6 separate regions of the Homo sapiens genome follow, and all the other regions are linked to region 3. Evidence: promoter capture Hi-C in 16 types of primary human blood cells and fetal thymus (Javierre and others, 2016). All regions are on one chromosome and are shown on one strand. The core of a region is centred on a gene start or on the middle of the fragment in contact, and the rest is flanking DNA. Distances in the headings are between cores, read along the strand shown. Region 1 overlaps BMAL2 (basic helix-loop-helix ARNT like 2). Region 2 overlaps STK38L (serine/threonine kinase 38 like). Region 3 holds the start of TM7SF3 (transmembrane 7 superfamily member 3). Region 4 overlaps STK38L (serine/threonine kinase 38 like). Region 5 overlaps STK38L (serine/threonine kinase 38 like). Region 6 overlaps BMAL2 (basic helix-loop-helix ARNT like 2).

Region 1 (4,429 bases), core at 321-2,820, 390 kb before region 3:
TTAAATGGGATATCTATTTCCCGTTGAATTTAGTCTCTTCTAAACCAAAGTTGGGATTCCTATAACCCAACCTGCAGAACTACTTTTAATTTCACCTTCAAATTTTCCCCTCTCCAGGACAGAAAAAGATAGTAATAGTCTTAATAATATGTCTTAGTAATAAGTCTTCCATCATCTAAAAGTAAGCTTACCTTCTGATGATTGAGAGCTACAAGGTAAAAATGATGCTTCTCCAGGCTCACTATGTCCCCTAGAATTAAAAACACCATAGGTGATTTACTTTCTAAGGTGAAGGAAACTGTTATAGCAACTACACTAAGATCTGTATATTTAATTTGTCAATTTGTGGCCCATTTATGTTTTATATACACATATTGTTAGTATCACCACCAGAAATCAAGGTCTTAATGTGCTAAGTATCATGGTGTTTGCCAAATGCCCCATTCCTCTATAAAGTATGTGTTCTCACAATAACAAACTCTCAGTTCCTGTACTAATAATAAGTAGGCAAAGACTACTGGGATGGGTGACAGGAAATACTGGAAGTATTAAACTTTTTTTTTTTTTATTATTTTTCTCTCAGTATTGTAGACAAGGAAATAACTGGTTCAAGGAAACCTTACAGCAATTTCAAAGAGAAACTTACAGAAAAAAAGTAAGACTTACAACGGGGCCATCCTAGCCTCCTATAAAATCAGGAAAACTTGACTCTTCCTTCAGGCTGACACAGCTACAGACCAGAGCTTGCTAAAGCAACACCTGGGCTGGATTTCTGTTCTCCCCCGTGCTGAGCATGCCTACACAGACATGGCGGCACCCCAGGCTTATAAGATGTGCAGGTAAAAATGACAGGGAGGACAAAACAATTTCTTACAATAATGCACAGTAGAAATCCACGTCTGCATTGTTTACTGAATGGCCATGGAGGGTAGGAAGAAAATGCTTGAATAAATGCCTTTACCCTCACATATTATATCAAGTAAGAAGGAATGTATTACAGAAATGAAAACTTTTAGCTTAATTCTGAGAACTAATGTCAATGAACAGTAAATGAATTACTCAAAAGATAAATCTCAAGTTACAATAAAAGGCCAGAGGATCACACAGTTTTAATGGTTTAGCAAGATGAGAGGAGAAAAGCAAAGAGACTCATTTGAAATCAATATAAAGGTCTTAACATAAAAAATTACTTACAAAACTAAAGTGTTGACAGATACAATATATTCCAGTTCTTTTGTCCAAGGATTTGTGAAACTAAACCATTGGCTTTTTAAAGTTACAAAAGAGCCATCTTTTGCTCTGAATTTGTAGGAATCTGTAAGTATTTTCTCCTTACTCTGTAGAACTTAACGAGAAAAGATAATTATCAGCATAATAGTCAATGACTATAAAAATCAATGTTGTGAAGATTAATTCAAACTTCAAATTTCACAGGAATGGGAAATTAAGAGTTAAAACTGTCATTTTAAATTCCCCAAAATGTATTCTGCTCAATGCATACCTACCTGCTTTGTGCTTGTCAGTCAAATTATTGTGGTCATCTTGATGAAAATATTCATAACAAGAAGTTCCCAAAAGTTCCTGAGGCAGATATCCTAAAATCGCTGTTGCCCTGGTTTCAAAATTGAAAATAAACTTCAGAAGTGGTGAGTGTACTCCCTCCCAGAAGACTGTAGGCCCACATATGGTCAGGATCGTAAAGAAGTGCACAGGGTAGGGGATGAGTGACCCATGCATATCACTGGGCTCCCCTCGGCTGCCCTAGACCCAGACTAGAGCTGCAACACAGAACAGGCACCCAGGCATGAAGCCTCCACCCGATCCAGGCTGTGCTCCTACTAGCTTTTGCCAGTAAAATCGTGGCCACAGATCATGCCCAGTTTCTGCACCACTGGCTAAGAGACACTCTTCCAAGTTTACATGTTGGCTTAAGCAAATTTACTGACATGTCCATATTCTTATTTCATTTAAACTTTATTTTCTGTTCTGAAACAGAAAAAAGAAAAAGAAAAACTAGCAGTGCTACTAAGACACGCCTTTAATAGCTTCAAATATCCCATTGAATTCTAATCATTATAACATGTAAATGTTTACCTTTGATCTACATAGACAAATTTTCCATTCACTGCAAACCGGGTTATAAATTCAGTTGGTTTCACATTAATCTCTCCACTGTTCTGTGGAACAATATATGGCTGTAATCTTCCAATGGCCACAAGGCAGGTAAAATTACTGTTGTCTTTCTTACTGTTCCTTTCTTCTTCCATTCCAACAATATTTGGAGGCCAGCTTCTCAAGTAACCAGTGCAATGGATAGTATAGAATTTTCTGTGCTCTAATTCAAAGATTTTTAAAAAGGACATTTGGATCATTATAAATAAGTCATTAAATTTCTTATATTGACATCTATAATAGTTATAATTGTGCTATAAAATGCTCTTTAAATATGCTAAAATATGAAAGGGGAATGGTATTCCATTGAAAAGATATCACCAATTTTGTTTATTTCATGACTTTATTATTAATAGATTATTTTTCTCAGGAACTAAATTGTATGTACTACATGAAAAAACGAACAGGTTGCTCTATTTTAGGATTAACTAGGTCTATGACTTAACATATTTCCAAGTCAATTTTTAAAATTATAGTAATTTACATCTATTAGAAAAAATTAATCCTCATGCCCCCTTGCAATATTGTTTTCACCTTATTAAGTTTTTTGGTATATCGTAACTTATATTCAAAACTTTAAAAAGACATTTAAATAATTATGCATACATTCTTAAATTTCTTATGTTAGTGCTTATAATGGTTAACAGATACATAAGGTTATAATAGATTATAGAAACATTTTAAAGAACACTTGGAGAAATTTATAGTGAAAAGTACAAAAATAAAATAAATTTCACTTTTTAGGAAAATCCCAAGCAATTAACTCATAGGAAGAAGCTTGTCAAGCATGTCCACCAAAATAATAAAAAATTGGAAATAATCTATATCCTCAAATATCATGCTTAAGCAAAAAATAAATCCAATACGGGCATAAACAATGAGTAGGCTACAGATTATGGCATGCCACAAAAGTGATTTAAAGGTTAAAAAGTAGGGGGAAAGCCTGATAAAAATTATTTGAAACAGCTGTTTTTATGATAAGATTTAGAAAAGATTAGAACAATCATTGTTTCAAATTGGCACTATTTGGTAAAAGTTCCATTACAATAAATCCTTTAAATTTTTGTTTAAATAGAACATGATATGAACTGTCATATAAGATAGTAGTTAACAATAATAGCAAAGATTTAGAGAATACTTTATGTGTCACAGTCTGTTTAAAGTGCTTTAAACGTATAACTCATTTAATCTTAACAGCTCTATGGGATGTTCTAGTATCTCCATTGTCCTAGGAAACTGAGTTAATGGCAAGGTCACACCAGGTACAGGATGGAGCTGGGGTTAAAACTCAGGCTGGCTCCAGAGCCCACTTTCTAAATCACTAATGCCACACCATTTGCTGATAGTGAGTGCTCTGTCACCAAAGATGTTCAAATAGGAGTTGCCTGGGTGACAGAAGGGGAGGGGCACAAAGGTGTTCCAGCCAGAGGGAATGACCAGTGAGAACTGAGAGAGAGCGGTCAGATGCGGCTGAAGCATATGCTGCAGTGGGAAAGGCTGGAAAATAAAGCAGGGAACAGAGGGCAGGTTGTAAGCCATGCATAAAACCTTGTATCCAACATTTCACAAACACCACTCCCTTCCCAGGCCACAGATGCCCTAAATTACAAAACTCCTTACCTCTTCCAACCCAAACCCAGTCTTTATCACTTATTCCCTACCCTGTTTACTGGTGCCACGATCAACCCAGGCAGTTCAAAGAGAAATCTGGGGGTCATCCTAGGCTCTACCTCCCCCTAACAACCCAGATGCCTCAAAGGAATTAAAATTGAGTAAGTACGAATAAAAGTTTTCATTTAACAAAGCTAGATGGCAGTTAAAAATAAAAGGGCTTATACATCAGGTTCAGCATTTTTGCAAACTTATGAATGATACTGACTAAAAATATTCCACTCTACTGAAAATATAGACTTAAGAAAGTCTGTATTTTTAATTTATATATGTAATCTCATCACATAGAACCTAGCCTGTTGCATTTACTTCTCTCTTACAACAGGTTACTATCTATATTTCCAAATCGAACTGTCCCTCACTTCTCACTGTGAACATTTATTCAGTTGGCAAATTTCTAGCTGGGATTGTGTAATTCTATCAACTGCAATTCATTTGATCAGCTATCTAAGTTTTTTTTTTAAAAATCCCATTTAATCCATTTCCTATTTAGAAAAGAAAAAAATACAGCTCGCTACCAGTGCAGTATTCTCAGGGCAAATGGGAAGTGGGTTAAAAATTCTTATCTCAATAATTCTTTAGCTTT
Region 2 (4,591 bases), core at 322-2,821, 300 kb before region 3:
GAATTAAGCTTAAAAGACTTCAAATATTTTAGTCAATGATATCTGTAATATGTTCAAACAATGGCACTCAAGGAAATGTATATATTTTGTACATAAATGAATGATAAAACATACCTATTAGCATTTCATACATAATCACTCCCAAAGACCACCAGTCACACAATTTGTTGTAACCAGTCTGCATGAATACTTCTGGAGCAATGTAATCTGGTGTCCCAACTGTGGAATATGCCTACAAAGGAGCAACTCGTCAAACCAGCATTCTTAACATTTAAAAAATATCTATCTGAGGATGGCTTACTACTGGAAAAAGCAATATATAGAGGAGTTAAATTTTCACTTGTATTTATTTTGCATGTTTATCATGTGCAAGGCTTAGTGGTAGGTAGTGAGTCAGATAATATGTTATAGACTACTATTTTTCAGTCTATTTACTTTCCTGAGGGAATGCTGAATTAGTTTTCCTTTCATCACTTAGTTGAACAAATATTTATAGAGTGTCCATATGTGCCAGGCATTTTATAAGAATATATCATTTCTGCCCCCACAAGAAGCTCAGTTAAGTTATTTATATATATAGCCTTCAGTCTATTTCAAAAAGAATGAAAAAGTTGAACCTAGAAGACCTGGCTTCCCCACTCACTACTAATGTGTTCTTGGGCAAATTATTCAATTTCTCTGAGGCTCAGCTTCTGCTTACATAAAACTAGAATAATAATACCTGCCCTAATAGAGTTGATATGAAGATGAAACAATAAACGGCATGTGTTTTGTAAACTACAAACTACAAAAATAAGCATGAGGTATTTTCATTATAAATGTAATTCCAGGGTACTGCTTATCCTTTAGGAAGCTATGCAGTTTTTAATTCTTAATTCATATAAAATCTTACAAAAATGATTTCTACAAGGCAGTAATTCTCAACCAGGGGTAGTACTCTTGGGGCCATGGCAAAATGTAGGACCACAGATTTTGTCATCTCAGTGACATAACTGGCATTTACAGGGCAGGGGATCCAGGTGCTAAAGAAATTTCCTGCCCCAAACACTGAGTCCTCTCTACTTCTCCCTTGGGAAACACTCGATCTAAGGCTTGGCAACTACTGGCCATGAGAATAATAAAACACACACCTGAGTAATCACCCATGAATATTTTGTAAATAGGGGGGTACAGAATTCCCCCACCATAATTTTGAGCAGTATTCAGTTTTTCCCCTTTAAAAATAGGGAATATTGCAATTATTCTCAATTGCAAAACCTGATCTAAAATGGACACATTTTAAAAGTAGAACAAAGTTTTTCTCCTTAATGTGTAACTCAATACATTTAAAAATACTGAAATGTTTTACAAGTTTTTGCAGTTACTTAGGTTAATGAGATAATAAGCTCAATAATGCAAAGGTCATTTTATTTGGTTTTAGAGGGTATTAGCCTATTATTTTTCAGTCTGTTTACTTTCCTGAGGGAATGCTGAATTAGTTTTCCTTTCATCATTTGGTTGAACAAGTATTTATAGAGTGTCCGTATGTGCCAGGCATTTTATAAGAAATGAGAAAAAGAAAATCCTAAGGCACATTCTTAACCTGTAGACTGTTGATGGACCATGTTAACAGGACAAAGGGAAAGAGGAGAAAGGGGAAGCAATTCTTCTATTTGCTCAGTTATAGAAAGGAAATAGTATGGGGTTAAAAATAATGTAATTCTATATTAAAGGAGTAATTAAATTTATCTGTGGCAAAGCCAGCTTTTTCAAATTTTATCTGTTTTATTGTAACACTGTTTACATCCCAAACTTCCTGTTTACTTTGTCTATAAAGAAGTTTTTAGAAACTCACAACCACCTTACTTGCTGATTGATATTTGTTGTATCAGGATTTGTAACACAGTTATGAAAAATGGAAAAATGGAAATCACAAGGCATTCATTACAATTGCATTCACCTCAGTGAGTTTTATTTAAAGTGCTAATTACTAGTAAACAGCTTACTTGTAGGTATGCTCAGTAAACTACTCTAAAGTTACAAAGTAAAAACCAACACTTTGCTTTACAGGCAAGGAAACTTAACAGAGAAACTAAGAAAACTGTGTGATCCCAGAGCAAGCGCTACCATTGTTATGAAGTAAATACTAATTATTATAAAGATAAAAATAATCAAGTTAAAACCAGGTAAGATTTTAGAACCAAGGCATAAAATTCTCTTAAAAACTGGTTGACTCACCAGTTGTCTCCTGTTCTTCTTCCAAGTTTCTGCTTTCCTCTTTGAGTTCATGTTCTGAAATGCTAATTTCAACAATATGGAATTGTAATCACGAGGGAAAAATGCTCTCCACAAAAAGAAAATACATATACATCTAAAACACAGTGGATTAAGGAGTGGGGAAAGGGAAAGAACCTTCTGTTCTCTACAGTATCTTAACCAGGGGAAAGAAGAAAAACAACAACCAAACTTACAGAAGTCACTTGGTGGGTTGTGTGTGAGATTTCTATAAAATTCAGTCCTGTGAGCTTTCTTTAATCCCGTACATAAACCAAAATCAGATAATTTTACATGACCCTAAAAAAAAATCCAGTAAAATTAGATCATATTAACTTTGAAAACAAAAAGCCTTGTTATAAACTCCTCTATTAAATGGCAATTATAATAAAAATTCTTAGCTTGGGATTTATACACGTAAAATGTAAAATTTTAAGTATCTGATGATGATTTTTAAAAGTAGAAAATGGAGGGAGATAAAAAGAGAGCCATATTCCCTGTTGTCATTTAATTCCCAAGTCCTCTCCTAGTACCTTATCATATAATGTTGTTTAGCAATATTCTAAATTGCAGTTGCTGATTTCCATTCACAAAATCAGCCCTACTGCTCTAAAAAATAATCAACAGCCTAGTAATTCACCAGTTTATTCACATGCCTTGGCATCCAATAAAAGGTTGTCTGGCTTAATATCCCGATGGATGAAACCCAACTGGTGGATCGCATCTATTGCCAGAACAGTCTCTGAAATGTAGAACTGTGTTTCCTCTTCTGTCAAGGTGTCTTTCTTCATTAGCAATGTCATCATGTCACCTAAATAAAGGATAGTCAAATATATTATTATTGAAAATGCCTCAAAGGTGGAATACCTTGTAAAAGCTTTCCTGCTTTTTTTACTTTTTTTTTTTTTTTTTTGGAGACAGAGTCTCACTCTGTTGCCTGGGTTGGAGTGCAGTGGTGTGATCATGGCTCACTGCAACCTCCGCCTCCTGGGTTCAAACAGTTTTCATGCCTCAGCCACCCAAGTAGCTGAGATTACAGGTGTGCACCACCACACCCAGCTAATTTTTGTATTTTTAGTAGAGATGGGGTTTTGCCATGTTGGCCAGGCTGGTCTCAAACTCCTGGTTTCAAGCTATCTGCCTGCCTTGGCCTCCCAAAGTACTGGGATTACAGGCATGAGCCACCATGCCCAGCTAGCTTTCCTGAGTTTGCATTTTATGATCTACCCAGTATATTTCTAACCACATCTTGGGACAAATAAAAGTGCTATTGCATAGCAGAAGTTTCATGACTTTTAATGGTTTTAAGGCAGAGACCATGTGAAATCAAATCACAAAAGAGCTGATAATGAAGTAATATCTACCACTCAACTTCTAGAATTAACTGCTGAGGAAAATGTCAAACTGCAAAAAAATCAGAATAAGTGCACCTGGAAACGAAATATATTCTTTTAGAGTTTAGTGGGACATTATCCCACTAAAAAAGGCACCTGCAGACATTCTTTTATTTTCAAGGAATTTTAAAAGTTTTAACAGTTTTAACTGTTGTAAACACTGGTGCACTTACAACACAGAATTGACAACTGATTACATTTTTTTCATATATTTTTTGAGGCTTTAAAAAAAATAGGGAGCCAGGGGCAGTGGTTCACGCCTGTATTCCCAACACTCTGGGAGGCTGAGGTGGGTGGATCACTTGAGGTCAGGAGTTTGAGACCAGCCTGACCAACATGGTGAAACCCCGTCTCTACTAAATACAAAAAAAATTAGCTGGGCATGGTGGTGGGCACCTGTAATCCCAGCTACTCAGGAGGCTGAGACAGGAGAATCGCTTGAACCCGGGAGGCAGAGGTTGTAGTGAGCCAAGATCACACCACTGCACTCCAGCCTAGGCAACAGAGCGAGACTTCATCTCAAAAAATAAAAATTAAAACAAAACAAAACAAAACCCAGAATTCTTTGCCCTCCATTGCCATTCTTTTCCCCTTGCCCTCTTTGCTGAGCAATGATTAAACCTCTTTCCTTTATAAATTACACAGTCTCAGGTATTTTTTTTTTTTTTTTTTGAGACGTAGTCTCGCTGTTTTCGCCCAGGCCGGACTGCAGTGGCGCTATCTCGGCTCACTGCAAGCTCCGCCTCCCGGGTTCACACCATTCTCCTGCCTCAGCCTCCCAAGTAGCTGGGACTACAGGCGCCCGCCACTGCGCCCAGCTAATTTTTTTTATTTTTAGTAGAGACGGGGTTTCACCTTGTTAGCCAGGATGGTCTTGATCTCCTGACCTCGTGATCCATCCGCCTCGGCCTCCCAAAGTGCTGGGATTACAGGCGTGAGCCACT
Region 3 (4,238 bases), core at 718-3,217:
ATACCAAATCTACAAAAATAAGATTTTTAAACATTTTTGATGCCGATTACTTTATTAAAGTGTATATTCCCAGTATCCCTACCTAAGAATGCCTCCTTCTTAGCTCTTTTATCCACACTGGATGTTTTATACTTTTAAAATGTTTACATCTTAGTTTGTTAATTTGATTTTTTTATTTGTTTACTAGTGAGATTGAACTTTTTTCATGTATTTACTGGTAATTTGTATTTCTTTTTTGGGGTGAAATTCCCCATTCATGTCCTTTGCTAATTTTTTTTTTTTGGTCAACTTGCCTTTTCATATTGTTTGTGTGTTTACTTTAATAAAATTTAAATATTTATGTAAAAAGCATTTACGTAGCCAAGTCTACCAATCTTTTCCTTTATGGTTGTTTCCTTTGCTGTTTTGCTTCTTAGAAAGCTCCTCCCATTTTGAGATCAATTTATTAAAAAAAAAAAAGAGCGCCCTCTTCTGCTAGCTCTTTTATGGTTTTATTACTTTGGGATTTTGTTTTCACAATTAGTGTGAGATAGAGTTCTGCTTCTCTCTGCCCATAGTGCAGCTAATCAGTTAAGAACACAATTTATTGAATAATCCATCCACTGATTCAGATGCTACCCTTATCATAATTGTCCCTTTCATCTTCCTTGGATTTCATCTACTGAGGGTTATAGGAATAGGGGCATGTGGGAGAGTGAATAAGCACTACAGAAATAGATAGTGCTACCAAAGGTGTGAAAATTTGGACCAGGCAGTGGGAAAGCAGAGAAAGAATTGTGCCTATGACAAAGATTATTTGCTTGGCCAAACTCTAGTACGGCTTCTGAATCTTCTGCTAGGTCCATCTGTGCACTTCTTTGTAAAAATCCAGTTTTAGCAAAGAACCCCCTTTCCTCCATATCTAATCAGTTTTCTCACCCTGCACCATCCCCCAGGTGATGTTATGTCTTCAGAAGTCCTGTTAGGTCAGTTTCACCAAATGCCCCTTACCTCTGATGCTTCCTCTTAGTAATTTTCCATCCACTGAACTCCATACTGCTGGTTGGCTATAAATTCCCTCTTGCCCACGCTGTATTCGGAGTTGAGCCCAGTCCCTCTTCCCCACTGCAAGACCCAGTTGCAGTGGTCCCTATGCCAATTGAGACAGTCCTCAATAGTCTTCGTTCGGTGCTTTAACAAGTATCATTGAATAATTTTGTCTTTAACACTTCTTCACATTATGGTCACAGCTATATATTGTTAGCTTAGTAGTGGACTAACTGAACATGTAATTTCCAAGCTATAAGTTGCTCATCAAAATATATAAGTGAAAAAAATTAAAACCAGGGAAGGAAAGCAAGACAATCCTCCCCAAATAACGTTAAGTCTATGCGTCTAATTCCACATCATCGATGAGCCATCTGTCACATGGACTACTGTCCCTCAAACAGCACTCAGGTATGAGACTTGAGACGAAGTTCAGACCAAGGCCGTGTCTTCGAGGATATTTCGCTTAGAGAAAACGAAACTACTTTTAAATGTAGTGCTTATGACTAGTGCGGTAACCACTACACAAACAGCATTCTCCTGGCATTTTTATGCTAACATAAGCCTCAGCAGCGAAGACAATTGCTACCGGGGGAAATAACCTTCAATTGTGTTTTTAGCAACTGATTCCTCTTTTTTGCTGTTGTAAAGGGCCGTTAAACACGGAAACAGGAGCCTGGCGACGTTAGTCCGCAACAGAAAGTTATTTTGTACTTTCACAGTGGGTTTGCCTACTTGGTGAGATAAAAGTGGGGCAAGACCGGGCCTCAAGCCAGGACTTCCTGGGGGCTCCCGGGAGCACCGCAGGCTGCGCGTTCCCCGCGCGCCGGCAGGAGGCGCGCGCTGCCTGGAAACGCCCCAGCGCCGCCCGCGCCCAGAGACCCGCCGCTGTGACGCAGCGAGAGCCCGGGAGGAGGCGCGGGAACGCGCGTTGGGGGTCAGGTGCCGGAAGAGGAAACCTCTCGCTGGGGCTAGGAGTTCGGCGGGGCGCGCGCCGGCGGCTGCGGAGCTGGCAGGTGCGAAGCGTCTGCACCTGGCGGGCGATGGCGCCCGATGCGGGCGCCCCGGGATAGCGTGGGCGAGGCTGCGGGGCCCCGGCGCGCACGCCCGCACCTCTCCCCAGCCCTGGCGTGGGCCCAGCCCGGCCCAGGCAGCAATGGGGTTCCTGCAGCTGCTGGTCGTAGCGGTGCTGGCATCCGAACACCGGGTGGCTGGTGCAGCCGAGGTCTTCGGGAATTCCAGCGAGGGTAAGGTCGGGGCGCCTGGCTTCTGCAACCCAAAGTTGCTTTTGCATTTCTTGCGAGGTCAAAATCCGCCAGGGGTCTGTCAGCCTAGCAGGGAGATGGTGCTGGGGGCGTTGGTACACGCTGGGTGGTGAGTCCAGAACCGGCACGAATGGTGTTTCCTGCAGCGGAAACACTCATGGCTAAGGAGGTCTTACTATTAACCTCCTCATTTAGCGGAGGAAATGGGAAGAGATAAATAATTCTCTTTTTTTAACACAGTATTATCTCCCTTAGGGAGCAGCCATGTTTGTGGCTTTAATTCAACTTACTAAAGCGCCTCTTTGCTGCCCAGTGGACTGTCTGAGCTTCTGGACAGCAAGACTTGGGGTGGAACTAGCGGCTTAATGACTGATGGCTCTCAAGCTGCATGGAATTTTTACACCCCCAAATCTAGAGGCTTTTCAAACTGGTTATGTTCTACAGAGTTTGAGAGGGAAAATGAACCCATAATGAGGCTTTATTTTTAAAGAGCCTTTACCATCTAATTTATTAATACCATCTGGAGACAGGAAAACATTCCATACTCACAATGAGAAATAAAGGACTTTCTGAATTACAGATACATAGACATACAGATAGAATGTGTATACCCTCAATTCTACAAGTTCAGCCACAAATGAAAAATAAACACAGAAACACAAAAGCTTGCCAGTCCAGGTATCAGAGTTGTTCTCCTTACTTGAGGGCAAGAAATTTCTAATCGATTTGACCTTAAAAAAGACAAATGGACAAAAACTGTGTTCTCTGTTGTCTCATATCCAACAGGAAATAGATCTCTATGAGATATTAATTCGTTTACAGAGATCACAAAATTCCCAATCATTGCAGCTACCAACAGGAAATAACTTGTCATCCATAAATGAACTGTAAAAAATAACAATTTAATAGAGAGTAAAACTAAAATGAGAAAAACAAGAATCAACGAAGTTCTATTGCCACTTCAAATTCACCTGTGGGAGCCAAGAAGCAACATGCCCGGGCTTGGCTCCCTATGAGTACACCATTTTTGATGATTTCAGGTGACTTTTTTTTTTTTTTTTTTTGACGGAGTCTCGCTCTGTCGCCTAGGCTGGAGTGCAGTGGCATGATCTTGGCTGACTGCAACCTCCGACACCCGGGTTCAAGCAATTCTCCTGCCTCAGCCTCCAGAGTAGCTGGGATTACAGGCGCCCGCCACCACACCCAGCTAGTTTTTGTATTTTTAGTACAGGCGGGGTTTCACCATGTTGTTCAGGCTGGTCTCGAACTCCTGACCTCGTGATCTGCCCGCCTTGGCCTCCCAGAGTGCTGGGATTACAGGCATGAGCCACCGCGCCCGGCCGATTTCAGGTAATTCTTGTTCATCTCAGTGAGAACTCAGAATGGGATGTTAGATTGTAAGTCTTGTGCTTGGTGAATGGGTTTGGGCAACAGCTCATGGTTTGTTAATATAAAATGTAAAAGGCACTAGTTGTGCCAGGCAGATCATCATGTGCTTTTCCATGAAACTAAGCACATTCTGTTTTGTTTTGAGGTTAATAGACTAGTTGCAGTTCTGAAACATAATATTTTCTGAATAATGTGATTGTGTTGCTATGCACTTATCTTTGAAAAGCCCTTGTGCAAACTGAATTCTAGGATCTTTGTATATAGGACTGAGGCCAAAGCTGAAAAGGGCAACTTTTTTTTTTGCAGAAAAACCTTGCTTATAATAGGGCACTAACATTCACTCTGTATAGTGTGTGCCAGGTGCTTTCCACGTGCAGTGTTATTTAATCCCCACCACCCTACAATGTAATGATCTTCCTCCCTTGTCAGAGGAACAAATGAACAGCTGCTAGGGTTACAGATAGGACTTGAACCCAGGTGAGTCTCCCTGCAAATTTCATAGTCCTTCCACTTCCGTAAAGCTGTCTTCCAATAAGAATATCTTACATGGCATGGTGC
Region 4 (4,719 bases), core at 2,011-4,510, 280 kb before region 3:
GTATTAGTATTTTATTTCTATTGTATTGGTTTTCCCTAAATATAAACCTAGCAGAACTCCTCCTAATTAGTTCTGGAGTGTGTCAGAATAACAGTAACTTTTCAGGATTTAACTGAATGGGTATAAGGGTTAAGGATTGAAACCCTCCCACAACTTTTTGATATTTCTTATTCATGGCTACATGTCCAAAGGTAAGCTTTTTTACTAAACCATCATTAAGATCACTTAGTTTTCCTTCTTATAGAAGATTTGTAACATTTAAAGCCTGTTGATACATCAGCACCCCACTGGAGAGGATGAGGCCTAAGAGCATATTCTCCAACACATGTTTCCTCAGTGCTTGTCATAGGCACCTACCTTGGTGCTTATTACACTGATTTTTGTCTTTTGTTTATGCATTATTTCCCCTAGGCCCCAACCCTTAGACAAGAATAATCTCCTAACATCAGATTCTGTGCTGCCATCACCTACCCCTAGGCACTTCAGTGCTGCTTGTTGAATGATTTCCAGTTTTCTCCTCTGCAGAAAGAATCCAGAGAGTAAGAGGACCATTATTCTGGGAGGAGCTATAACATATAAACAACTTTATTCTTCTGTCAAATTTCCACTGTCCCTTTCCTCAGTTATTGCCAAGACTAACACTTCATGAAATCATTCCTCATTCTGGAAGAGATACAGTAACTTTTATCCATTTCTACCATATCTAAACAGGAAGATCCATGATTTCTGTTGTACCTTTTTTAAAAATAGTTTTCCACCTAAAATGCTCTTATGCTTTGCTCTGATTAGAAATTTATTGGGCTTATGCATTTATCCAATTAGTTAAGCCTTAAAAATACATCACATTTTCTTAAAAGTATAAGCTTTTAGAAAATATGAGCAGATTGTTCGACTTGACATACAGTGGCACCAAGCTGAGACTACTTTTTTTTTCAATAACACAGATAATTTTATTGTTACTTTCCTTTATTTGGAAAAAGAAAGCAAACTGAATTACTTTAACACTGCAGCAAGTAAAGACAATGAACCTTCGAAATTCTGATGAATTTTTTTAAGTGCCTGCTTTTTCTTCCTTGGTTCTCTTCTACTTTATTCACTCTCCCAGGATGGTCTGATCACTTCCAGAGACTTTAATTACCCTTGTAATTCATTTAATTATTGATATATTTAGATTTTTATTTCTAACTTATTTTGTGCTATTTTGGTATTTCATTTTTACCATTTTTGGTATTTCAGTTTTTCTTTCTCTCTTGCATTCTTTTTGAACTGACTTTTTTTTTCTCATTCCAATTTTTTCCTTCTACTAGTCTGGAAATTACAAACTCTATTTTTATCATTTTATGGTTACTCTAGAACTTACAACATAATTTGTCAAACTCTGAAGCTAATCTCTATGCCCTTTCTACTAAGATCATTAAGAACACCTTAATTCTAATTACTTCTTTCCTGAATTATATTCTGCTGTTGGAAAATATTATCGTTCTATTTTTTAATGTGTAAGATATTATCGCTATTATTTCTGTTGCTTTATATAATTTTTGTTGAGATTTATCCACCTACTTACCATTTAAATCTTCTATTTGTGGTCACTTTCCTTCTGCCTAAATGGAACTTTTTGGAATTTCTGCTGATGCTAACTCTTTTTTTGTTTGTTTGCCTCTGCTCTATTTTCATTCCTTTCCTCCCTTTCAGAACTTTTAGAGATATGTCAAGTCTTCTCATGATTCTCCATGTTTCTCAACTCTCTTTCACATATTCCTATTTTAAGTTGATTTCTGAATAATTATTTTCCAGTTCACTAATTCTCACCATACCTGTATCTAATCTGCAGTTAAATCCGTCCAAAATTAAATGAGACTTTTCCTCTCTATTTCATTTAAACTGTACCACTCTCAGTTTGCCCAGGCATGAAATTTCAGAGGCAACATTGACTTATTTCCCTCACATTTCATATTTTGCTAGTAGCCACATTTTGTCAATCTTTCTTACTTGTCAGTTCTCTGTTGTTGTTGTCACAATTCTAATTCAAGCCTCCTTTCCATTTACCTGGACTACATCACTAGACTTTCCTGTTTCTAATTCCCCACCCTGACCCCAAACCATTCTCTGTATCACAACTAAAGTTCCTTTCTAGAGAAACACTTGTTTTCATTTGATTCTTCTGCTCAAAAACATCCAAGGCTCTCCACTACCATGAAAAGAGCTACATTAACAAAGAATCCAAGGCTCCCAGGATGTTGGAATCTAGCACATCCTGTGCTTGAGCGAAATTGGACACTGCCTGACCTGGTGATTTCTTCTGTCTCTAATATCCTTCCCTCCTGCTCTTTTGCCTCTGTCTCCTTCCTTTTATGCATGTATAAATAGTTCTTCTCCTTTAGAGCCCTGTTTAAATGCCACCACTATTTACAAAGCTTTCCCAGTTGCCTAGACAAAAGCACATTCTCCCTTCCTTGTACTTAATATTCTTCACTCTTTCATTTATATATTTATGTGTGTTATCTCCTTTAGTATAAGTTTTCTAAAGTCAAAATAACATGTCATTCTTTTTTTTATTCTTCTATTCCCCCTGATATGCACTGTAAATGCTTTTGGATTAAAGTCAGTCATTCATAAAGCATCTTTTTTTTTGAGACAAAGTCTCACTCTGTTGCCCAGGCTGGAGTGCAGTGGTGTGATCTTGGCTCACTGCAGCCTTGGCTCACTGCTGCCTTCAAGCAATTCTCCTGCCTCAGCCTCCTGAGTAGCTGGGATTACAGGCACCCGCCACCACACCCGGCTAATTTTTTGTATTTTCAGTAGAGATGGGGTTTCACCATGTTGGCCAGGCTGGTCTTGAACTCCTGACCTCAGGTGATCTGCCCACCTCGGCTTCCCAAAGTGCTGGGATTATAGGCATGAGCCACACCACACCAAGCCAGGCATCCCTTTAAAAGAAAATGTAAAGACATATCATAATTTCATGTTTGGAAAAGGTTTGTTTAAAACGTTAATTGGCATGTCATACGGGTATATAGATGCACAAGACTTGGGGCACCTCAGGAAACTACTCTGTGAAAATAAAACACATGTCTATGTGCACTGTCAGTACAGGAAACTCAAAAACAGCATGCAGGGATCCATAATATTCATATCATTCATGGTAAACAAGTTTCTATTCCACTCACAGCACAACAGCTTATTTAACTAAAAAAAGTTTTGATTAGCCCTTACTATACCTGGTTTCTCTCTCTTCATGCTGTAAAATTAGGTTGCTATAAAAATTCTCCAATGTGAGCTTGGCTACAGTCACTCTTTCCCGGGTATGGTTGCTCATAGGAAAGGTTGTTGTAGTCCCTGCCGTCATTGCCATAGTAACGGAAACTGAAACAACATAGAAAAACAAATTATTCAGTGGGAAAAAAAACCCCTATCTTTTATAATAAACTCTGAAAATGTTCAATTTCAACTAAGAAAAATTCGACCCTAACAGTTAACACATCCAAGTATTTCACATTATAAATAATACAAAGCTAGGGAAGAAAGAAAAGCACTATTTCCAAAGCAAGAGAAATTCATATTGTGGTGGCAAAACCAGGAGTTAATGACAGCAAAGAAGAACCAGTGGCATCCATATATAATATAGACACATTTATATACAAAGGTCACATTCAACAAGCATTCAAAACAAGAAAAGTTCCAGCTATTTTGTTGTTTCATTACTAAATAAAATCTATAAGATAGTGCTAATAGCTATGTCCCTGATAAATGTCAGTCTCCTAAGAGTTAATGCAGTTTAGTTTAATAGTAAGAAGTAGCTTCTGCCTTATGAATTCTATGAAACATGAAGTGTTGTATCAAATATGCATATAAACACCAGCCTAAAGCAACGTTCACGTATATTGTAGGGGGAAACTACTTTTAGAAACAGGCACCTTTGGATGGGGCTCATAGCTGCCCATTTCATTCTGAATTCTGGGTCATTCCAAAACGTGCTATAACAAGGTATAGTACACTTCTCCAGACTGTGCAGCCCATTTCATTTTCAAATGAAATTCAGATGCCTATAGGAACCAAGAAGGAAACAGAAATGTATGAATGAAGCCAGGTAACAACAGGGAAGCTTTGTGGCCTTAAGTGGACAATGTATGTCTGCTTAAAGGCATTCCAGTGCCAACTTTTAGAGATCACTGGGCCACGCAAACAAAGTACCGTTTCAAAGAAAATAATCTGGACTATTAGATAAGGAGTGTGGCAAAATGGCCACTTGACGGGGGGAAGACTGAACTCCGATGGCTGCGGCAGGTGGCCACTGACCCTAAGAGACTTGCCTACTACAGCCACATCTGGATAAAAAGACTAGAAGAGTTCATACATTAAAGAGGCTTTGCTTATCTAGATGAAGATCGTAACAGACCAGTCCAAAGAAGATCCAGCTTGCCAAGAGTGACCATCCAAAGCATTCTTAGTTGAAAAGTGTTCCCCAAACCTGCCACCTATGCCACAACATCCATCTTGCTTTAAGTAAAGAAGATACAGAGCCCTGGATGTGGACCTGAAGTGGACTAGATTCCAGGGTTGATGGAATGAACCAAAAGATGTCAAGCAAGTCAAGTGTAGGTTGAAAGCAAACAATTATCTATGGCAAACTCCCAGTTCTACTGTTGTCCTATTAGGGGTTTATACCTCAATGTACTGCTTGAGCCTCAGAATCACTATGTCTAAAACTGCATCTATTAT
Region 5 (4,091 bases), core at 168-2,667, 260 kb before region 3:
GAAGACTAACCAACGTTGAATGGCAGCCAGTCTTATCTCCGTCCTTATCACCACCTTACCATGTCATCCTGGCGAAGATGCCATCACAGGAGTCAGGGTTGAAGTCCAGGTTTAAGGTGCATCTAGATGGGTTCCCAGGACGCCTGAAGTAGCCTCAAGAGGCCCAAAAGAAAAAGCTCCTCTGGCACAGTCTCCTAATGGTGACAAAGGAGTCCCTCTCATCTGCTTGGCAGCCTTACAATCAGAGCGTTCTTACATCTAACCTAATTATTTCCCACTGAAATTCAAACCTAATTCATTTATTTTTTATTCTCTATAAAAATGAAAAACATCACTGTGGCAAGTAACTTGCTCAATTTCTCACAGAAAATAAAGAAAAGGTAGCTGGAATCAGTACTGACTTTGATTCTCTTTCATTGCATAATCAAAAGTTCTTATTTTGCTAAGGGAAGAACTGCTTATCCGCCTCAAGAAAACTGTGAAACTGATTTGAAAATAACATTGCCTTTCTGAAATGTTCATGACTACTATATATCTTAGAATTTAGAAACAGAAACCCTTCATAGTACTTTTAAAGGTCTTTTTAGTAAAAATAATAACCATGGGTAACTTTTATCAAACACTTCTGTGTTAGCTACAGTACTAAAGGTTTGGCACGCATGCTGTTCTTTGATCTTTACAGTTCTATAAAGTAGGCGCTTCCCACATTTACAAATAAGGAAGTAGGCTTAGTTAAGTCATCATCCCAAAGACCTACAGCCAGTAATTGGAACCTGTCTCCCTAAGCTCAGAACCCTCAGCTATATGGTCTTTCATCAGACTTTTATTTTTTAAATGTGTAAGCTTCCCTTTTTAGAGTATGTTGTTCTAGAAAGCATCAAGCTCTTTATAAAAAATTGTATTTTTCTCATCTCTTTCATTATAAACCGTGTGGAAAAACAACCACCTCAAGGTTTCACAAAGCTAAAGAGAGTCACACTTAAGAATGTAGCAAAAAAAAAAAAAAAAATTTTTTTTTTTTTAGCTCGCTGAAACTTCTGCCTCCTGGGTTCAAGTAATTCTCCCTGCCTCAGCCTCCTGAGTAGTTGGGATTACAGGTGCCCACCACCACGCCCGGCTAATTTTTGTATTTTTTCGTACAGACAGGGTTTCACCATGTTGGCCAGGGTGGTCTTGAACGCCTGACCTCAGGTGATCCACCCGCCTCGGCCTCCCAAAGTGGTGGGATTACAGGCGTGAGCCACCAAGCCCAGCCTGCAAACATTTTTTTAAAACTAAGGGAAAAAATGTGTACTAAGACTTAGAAGCATGAATATAAGCATAGAGCTTTTGCACCAGAAACAGTCCATTTTGAGACTCTGTTCCTTTAAACTATTTAAACATTTATTATCACAGCTAAACCAACTATTTTATTTTCACAGCTCTATAATAAAAAGATGCTCCTTGACTTTCAATGGGGCTACATCCCAATAAACCAATCCTAATTTGAAAACATCACTAAGTCGAAAGTGCATTTAATAGTGGCAGCAGAGCAGACATTCCCCAACTTACAATTTTTCCACTTTATGATGGTCCGAAAATGAGGCACATTCAGTAGAAATCATAATGACCTCCTCGATGGTCTTATATCCCAATAAACCCAACCTAAAGTTGAAAATTCATAAGTCAGGGACTGTCTGTATTTTGACATCTATTTGGGCAGGCCCCTACTCTTTTTCCTTTTTTATCCTCCAAATTATTATACTTTTTCATATGAATTCTAGAAATCTACTTGGAAAGTTCAATTTAAATTACTGTTGAGATTTTGATTTGGTCCCTATCATCTTTTGAGAAGAGGAAAAGCATGATTTAAACTATCCAGCCTCAGCTGATTTCAGCTTCAGGGCTGACTTTAGCTACTTTGCCAAGGTATTTCTGTCAGCTAGGGGACAAGTATCCAAACTGAGAGTTAAGGTTTTTAAAGTACTTTTAAAAAATTGCATCCAAGCTTACATTGTTATTGATTATAGAAAACAAAATGAGATATTCAACAAACCTAGTAGATAGTATTTGCAAGACACTTAGGCTTTCAGGGTGACCAAATAAAGACAAACCTGGAAGAAGCCAACTAAGCTAACAGTTTCATCGGCTTTAGGTAAGGCTTTAGGTACTAGCACCTATCAATGTACCAAGCAATATGACAGTAGGAAGAGACCCAAATAGTAGGAGACATGATATGAGCATGCTAAGATCCTATAAAATTGTCGAAAAAAGAGTTAAGACTAACCCATATAAACAATTAGCATATAAACAATTAGCCTGGGTGGACCTTTCTGATACAAGCAGGGCTTTAGAACAGGGGAAGATCAGTGTGGGCTGCAGTGCCCAATAAAAACTAACAGATCAAATAGTTCAGCTCTAGCTTAACTAAATGCCTGGTGGTAATCAAAATTTAGTGACAGCTATTCAGAAGTCTGTGTGAAAAGAAATAGTGATTATGTCAAGTTGGTTTATAAATCAAGGCTGGGCTACACTTACAGCCTTCCAATAAAAGGGCAAAGATCCCATAAGCAAGCATCTCTTAATTGCAGCAGCTACTCTAGATCATATGCCTAAACTGTGGCCAGCACTAGATTAACCCAATGGGAAATCCCCATGCTTTGTGGCTTATAGGTTATTCAAAACCAGAATCTGATCCTACTCTCCTTATACATGACCTGAAAAGTCCCTCCTCCACTGGACTTGCATCCATAAAAACTCCACCCAGTTTCCTGACATCACGGAAATTTACTAGTCCACTTGGAAGACCTAGTATGTAAGCTCATCTATTTGTGGAAAGAGGCAATTCTTTCCAAAATTACTGAGTCAGAAATTTTTACCAGCTCTAGACTTTTTTTTTTAAGGGGAGAAAGTTTTATCTTTTTTTTAAATTTTACTTGAATAAACAGGATAAGCACTATATCCCCTTCCAAGGAGCAAAAAATACTGCTCAAATAGCTGGAAAAATTGGTCAGGAGGAACTGGAGTGGGAATTTGCTTTAAATTTTTAAAATTATATGCAAACTCCATGGTTATTTAATTTTTAAAGAATTATGAGATAAGATATCTCCATGATTTCTTTACTCATTTGTCATTCCAGAAAACATTACTCAGGGTAGACAGCTCTTCCTTCCTCAATTATGTCCTTTGAAATGAACAGAAAACTTACCTTTGAGTTGGTTTTAAGGCGGTTTCACTAAAATCAGGGAGTTAAAGACTATTTAACCCTTTGAGGTTCCTTCGAGTCCTCCTACTGCTGTGTGTGTGTGTGTGTGTGTGTGTGTGTGGTTCCTTCCAGTTCTCCTACTGCTGTGTGTGTGTGTGTTTTTTGAGATGGAGGTCTTGCTCTATTACCCAGGCTGGTCTCAAAGCCCTAGGCTCAAGAGATGCTACCACCTCAGCTTCCCAAAGTGCTTTATACTTTATACTTTTAAAAGTACGAGTAATTACTCGTACTTTAAATTAAATCGAGGAACAAAGCGGGGTGTGAAGTTTTCACACACATGCCTCAGGACTCTATTTCTAATGAGATGATACACTGTAAATCATGAAACACTAATTCACTTCATACTTTATAGCTTTGTATTAAGTGAAATTGGGATAATTTGGTGGGTTATACATATTTAGAAGTGAAGTAAATACTTCAAGAGTTGTGAAGATCAAACGAAAGAGGTAAAATGCTTTATAAAAGGCAAGACACTATTCAATGTAAGGTTATACATGCTTTAAAACAATAAATCGAAATCCAGGATAATGGTCATTTCTGGGAGAGAGGAAAGGGAAGGATTACCAAGGCATCTTCACTCTACCTGCAATGTTCTGTCACTTAAAGAAAATCTGAGGTAACAGGGAGAGACTTGGTAAAGATATGCAGTAGACACATGAATGTTCCTTGTATTTTTCTCCATAACTTTGTGTATGTTTGCAATAATTCATAATATAAACTTCAGTTACTAGTTTATACTGTAATTTTGATAAAATAGAAATGACAAAGATTCCAAGGAATTTTAAAGGTTTCTTATGGATAATTTTTTAAAACTATTTAACCTTATACATAAATACAGTATCTTGCT
Region 6 (4,119 bases), core at 1,190-3,689, 360 kb before region 3:
TCGCCCAGGCTGGAGTGCAGTGGCGCGATTTCGGCTCACTGCAAGCTCTGCCTCCCGAGTTCACGCCATTCTCCTGCCTCAGTCCCCCCGAGTAGCTGGGACTACAGGTGCCCACCACCACGCCCGGCTAATTTTTTGTATTTTTAGTAGAGACGGGGTTTCACCGTGTTAGCCAGGATGGTCTCGATCTCCTGAACTCGTGATCCACCTGCCTCGGCCTCCCAAAGTGCTGGGATTACAGGTGTAAGCCACTGCGCCAGGCCGAGGATGGGTTTCTAACAGTCAGATGCCCCTCATAAGTAACTGATTTGTTTAAGTCATTGATCAATTTTTCTTTAGTGCTTGAAGAAAATAATAGGTTTTTTTTTAAGCTATTCTAAGAGAAAGTTAAAGGCATGAAAGCCAAAATGTTATCCAAGTAGACAGAAAAGCAAGACATCAGGTGCCTGATAACATTGCTTCTCAGAGCATAACAAGAGAGAAAAGCCTCATCTTCAAGCCCTTCTACCTTGGTGTCACCTTTGCCTTAGGCTACAGGCTTGCCTTTGTGTACCTTTCCACTCACCATGTACCATCTCAACAAGTCAATTGTACCTGAAGGCCTTCATTTTAACTTGGTGTTCACCATCTTCCACTCTACAAAAAAGCAGGATAAAATATCAAACTACATGAAGTACCTTTTCTGTAGTTCTTGATAGAGAAATAGATGTGAGATTAAGTCCAATCAATCATCCTAATTCCTATAAAATCCTTAGCTGTAAATGCTCCCTTGAGCACCTAATGACCTGAAATGATTCTTACTGTCTACATGAACCATTCTCCTCCTAACGCTGACAGGCAACACCATTCCCATAAGGATAACAAAAGTTATGTTAACTGACAGTGAACAATAATTAGTGTGCTACTTACATAATTAGATATGATCTCATGACAAACTTAAGCAAGAATAAGATTTTCATAGAATTAACATTAAAGTTATTAACATCATTGATGGCTTAACCAAAAACTTTATGATAGCTGTATTAAAACAGCCTGAAAATGGATTAAGAATCCCAGACCTTTAATCAAAAGGAATTTATTTTGCCTAAAAATCCACCTGGATGGTAACCAATATTGAAAACTGGAAACTCTTACCAATAATATTAATTTTCACATTAGTATAGTTCCTAGCATCAGAAATGTACTCAGCAGACGATTACTAAAATGAAATACGTTGGTAGTGATAGAAGACTGTCAGCATTTAAAAATCATGCAGGCTGCATAGCTTTTAAAAATATGTAATCTTAAAAGATTTATTTCCAAATGTATCGTTTTGTGGGAGATTTGAAAAATTCCAGGAAAAGCACCCATAATGCCACCTGGAAGTAATCACAGTTAATATTCTAATGTGTCTCCTTCCAGCATTTCCTAAACATGTAGATACATACAATGATTATTTAGCTTAGCCATGGTGCATGGGTACCATGTAGATATTTCTGTGTGTTCTACATGTATAATAAATAAAACTCAGATCATAGTATATAATTTTCATGTCTTGTCTTATTCATTTAACACTCTAACATGAATATTTCTGCGTAGTTTCAAATATTCTTGGATAACATAATTTGAAATGATTAAATAGTAGCCCACTGATTAGTTATAATTTATTCATTTGTTATTGTTGGATATTTCAACATTCTAATATTTTCAATATCATAAATAATATGGCTAATAATATTGTGGTGTGTGCATCTTGAATTATACTCTAGGATAAATTCCTAGAAGTACAATTTATGGATAAATATTTTAAAGCTTCTGATTCATCTTAACAAATTTCCCTCTTTACAGATTTTTAACAATGAATATTTTTCAGGCTTTGAAGAAAGGCTGGCCTACTTTAGAACTGTCTTATTCAGTTGAACTCTTTTGAGGTTTTAGTATTTTTCTACTTAAAAAAAGATAACACTTATAGAAAATTTAATCAAATTTATAAATAGATGCTTATAAATATTCCAAATAAAAAAGACCACGAAGACAAATGCTTAATCAAGTGGTGCTTTTCCTCTTCACAGTTTCAATCAAGAAGAGCTTTTATATTTATGGTACTTTATCAAAAATATTTCCACACTTGATTCTCACAGCACAGTGGTGAAGTTATTACTACCCCCATTTTACAGATGAAGGAGTTGAGTAAAGTTAATGACTGTGCAAGGTCCTATAACCAGTGGAGGCCAAGTGAAGACTACTCAATGCAGGCTGGTGCGCCTTCCACCATACCTGGCCATTTCTCTCACCACCGTCAGCCTGTTGTGTGGTTGGTACAAATAAAATTAAACAGCCTCTCTGAGGCAAAAGAGAGGGTCAGATTAAGTCAGCTTCTTTTCCCTTTTCTCTTTTTAGCCATCTTAAAGGAATAATCAGAAAACAATTATACAGATGAATAATTTTCTTCCTAATAGTCTGGAATTATATATAATTGTCCCTCAGCATCCATGGGGGACTGGCTCCAGAGCCTTCTGCAGATACCAAAACCTGTGGATGTTCAAGTCTCTTCACAGTATTTGCATACAACCTATGCACATCCTCCCATATACTTTAAATCATCTCTAGATTACTTACAATACCTAATAAATGTAAATGCTATGTAAATTGTTGTTATATGGTATTGTTTAGAGAATAATAACAAGAAAAATTAGTTTGGATATGTCCAATACAGACTTGCTTTTTTTTTTCTGGATATTTTCAACTTTTGGTTGGTTGCCCATGGATATGAAGGACTGACTATATATATGTATGTATATATACATTACTTCAATTTCAAAAGGTAAACTTTGACCTTTTAAAATCATGTCTTTGCTTTGATCATTGGCATTTTAGCAAATGAACTCACTGAGTGAATTTGCCTCCTTGGTGAAATTCAAATGTACTGTACTTACTAAATGCAAATACCCTTCTATTTAATGGCCCCTGGCAGAATAGAACAAAGGCAAGATCTTCTTAGTCAAACAATTCATTTCTTTGTTTGTAGCACAAATCTAGATAGTTAGTAAATTTGGTCTATAATCCTAATATTTTACAAATTTTTACAAATGTGTTTTAATAAGCTTTCTGATATTAATAATGGTCACATTACTGGGCTACATTTTCTTAGTGTAGAACCTTACATTACAGTAATAGAATTTCAAAATACAATGCAGTTTTCTTGAAAACTATTTTCACTGCATTTTGAATGAAATGTAGGCATTCTTTCTAAATCAACCAAAGACAAAGTTAGACGCAGATGCAATCTCAAAATATTCCCCAGATCTGCCATTTTTCAGGCATTCCTCTTTTTGGAACGTGCTTCCTTTGATTTCTGTGTGCCGCTCCCACTTCAGAGCCATGCCTTCACATATTCTGGGCAGGCTTCCCCTCATCTTGTACTATCTTTAGGTCAGCACCCCCAGAGTATATCCTCAGCCCCCAGTCTCCCCACTCCATCAGCTTCTCCCAGTGATGGCACCCACATCATCAGTTCAAGTACTTTTTGTGCATTAATGATGTCTGAGTCTCTAACTCCAGGCCAGGCCTCTACCCTGAGCTCCAAATCCTCATTTCCAACTTCCTGTTTGAAGGTTCTATAAATATCCCATTCTTAGTGTGTCCAGAACTGAACTCATCATTTTTGCCTCAATCTAAGTGAATGAAAATACCACCCTCCATCTAGGAGCCCAAGTCAGAAAACGTGGGCACACTTTATATCCTCTCCCCAGTGAACAATCATGAAGTCCTATTGATCCTATCTTCTAAGTGTGTCATATGTCCCTTCCTTTCCCTGCCCTTCCTGTCCAGGGCCACTCTCTTTGATCGATGCTCAGAAAACCTCGTCCTTGGCAAAAGCTATTCTCTGTTGTTCTCTCTGCCTGCTGGGTCTTCTTCTTTCAGCTCATCCTCCATGCTGTTTCCAGGGTGATTCTTTGAAAATTGTAAGACTGTACCACTCCCTCCTACCAGGATGGCTATAATCAAGCAATTGAAAATAATAAGTATTGGCTGGGCGCAGTGGCTCACGCCTGTAATCCCAGCACTTTGGGAGGCCGAGGTGGGCAGATCACGAGGTCAGGAGATCGAGACCATCCTGGCTAATACGGTCAAATCCCG

What was found. Contacts are between HindIII fragments. The CHiCAGO score rates a contact against its expected background, and 5 or more counts as called.
Region 1: a fragment that was not itself captured here is called in contact with the fragment with the promoter of TM7SF3 in region 3 in 1 of 17 cell types (endothelial precursors); the score reaches 5.3 in endothelial precursors.
Region 2: a contact is called between a fragment that was not itself captured here and the fragment with the promoter of TM7SF3 in region 3, in 16 of 17 cell types (M2 macrophages, monocytes, naive CD4 T cells and 13 more). The highest score is 13.8, in M2 macrophages.
Region 4: a contact is called between a fragment that was not itself captured here and the fragment with the promoter of TM7SF3 in region 3, in 17 of 17 cell types (M2 macrophages, naive CD8 T cells, monocytes and 14 more). The highest score is 21.3, in M2 macrophages.
Region 5: a fragment that was not itself captured here is called in contact with the fragment with the promoter of TM7SF3 in region 3 in 16 of 17 cell types (M2 macrophages, monocytes, M1 macrophages and 13 more); the score reaches 12.6 in M2 macrophages.
Region 6: a contact is called between a fragment that was not itself captured here and the fragment with the promoter of TM7SF3 in region 3, in 1 of 17 cell types (M2 macrophages). The highest score is 6.6, in M2 macrophages.

The regions. Positions count from the first base shown.
Region 1 is chr12:27,398,440-27,402,868 of GRCh38, reverse strand. It overlaps BMAL2 (basic helix-loop-helix ARNT like 2), which reads right to left. Exons shown (of 17, transcript NM_020183.6): 10 at 2,095-2,335; 11 at 1,506-1,612; 12 at 1,195-1,345; 13 at 192-250. The region is part of intron 1 of BMAL2-AS1 (BMAL2 antisense RNA 1); the gene reads left to right. Among named protein-coding and RNA genes, the nearest start is that of BMAL2-AS1, 46 kb to the left of the region's middle. The HindIII fragment of the contact is 2,763 bases long and covers 189-2,951 here.
Region 2 is chr12:27,312,977-27,317,567 of GRCh38, reverse strand. STK38L (serine/threonine kinase 38 like) reads right to left here. Exons shown (of 14, transcript NM_015000.4): 7 at 2,910-3,064; 8 at 2,451-2,553; 9 at 2,218-2,279; 10 at 115-232. Among named protein-coding and RNA genes, the nearest start is that of BMAL2, 18 kb to the left of the region's middle. The HindIII fragment of the contact is 3,122 bases long and covers 11-3,132 here.
Region 3 is chr12:27,012,113-27,016,350 of GRCh38, reverse strand. It overlaps TM7SF3 (transmembrane 7 superfamily member 3), which reads left to right and starts at 1,967. Exons shown (of 12, transcript NM_016551.3): 1 at 1,967-2,273. The coding sequence starts at 2,183. RefSeq lists a silencer at 1,775-2,274. The HindIII fragment of the contact is 5,016 bases long and covers 1-2,958 here.
Region 4 is chr12:27,296,354-27,301,072 of GRCh38, reverse strand. It overlaps STK38L (serine/threonine kinase 38 like), which reads right to left. Exons shown (of 14, transcript NM_015000.4): 2 at 3,219-3,363. The coding sequence starts at 3,352. Among named protein-coding and RNA genes, the nearest start is that of BMAL2, 34 kb to the left of the region's middle. The HindIII fragment of the contact is 1,688 bases long and covers 2,417-4,104 here.
Region 5 is chr12:27,276,607-27,280,697 of GRCh38, reverse strand. The region is part of intron 1 of STK38L (serine/threonine kinase 38 like); the gene reads right to left. LOC124902905 (a long non-coding RNA gene) reads left to right here. Exons shown (of 3, transcript XR_007063254.1): 3 at 1-50. Among named protein-coding and RNA genes, the nearest start is that of STK38L, 34 kb to the right of the region's middle. RefSeq lists a silencer at 626-826 and an enhancer at 2,544-2,593. The HindIII fragment of the contact is 1,144 bases long and covers 846-1,989 here.
Region 6 is chr12:27,372,863-27,376,981 of GRCh38, reverse strand. BMAL2 (basic helix-loop-helix ARNT like 2) reads right to left here. Exons shown (of 17, transcript NM_020183.6): 4 at 595-636. Among named protein-coding and RNA genes, the nearest start is that of BMAL2, 42 kb to the right of the region's middle. The HindIII fragment of the contact is 1,292 bases long and covers 1,794-3,085 here.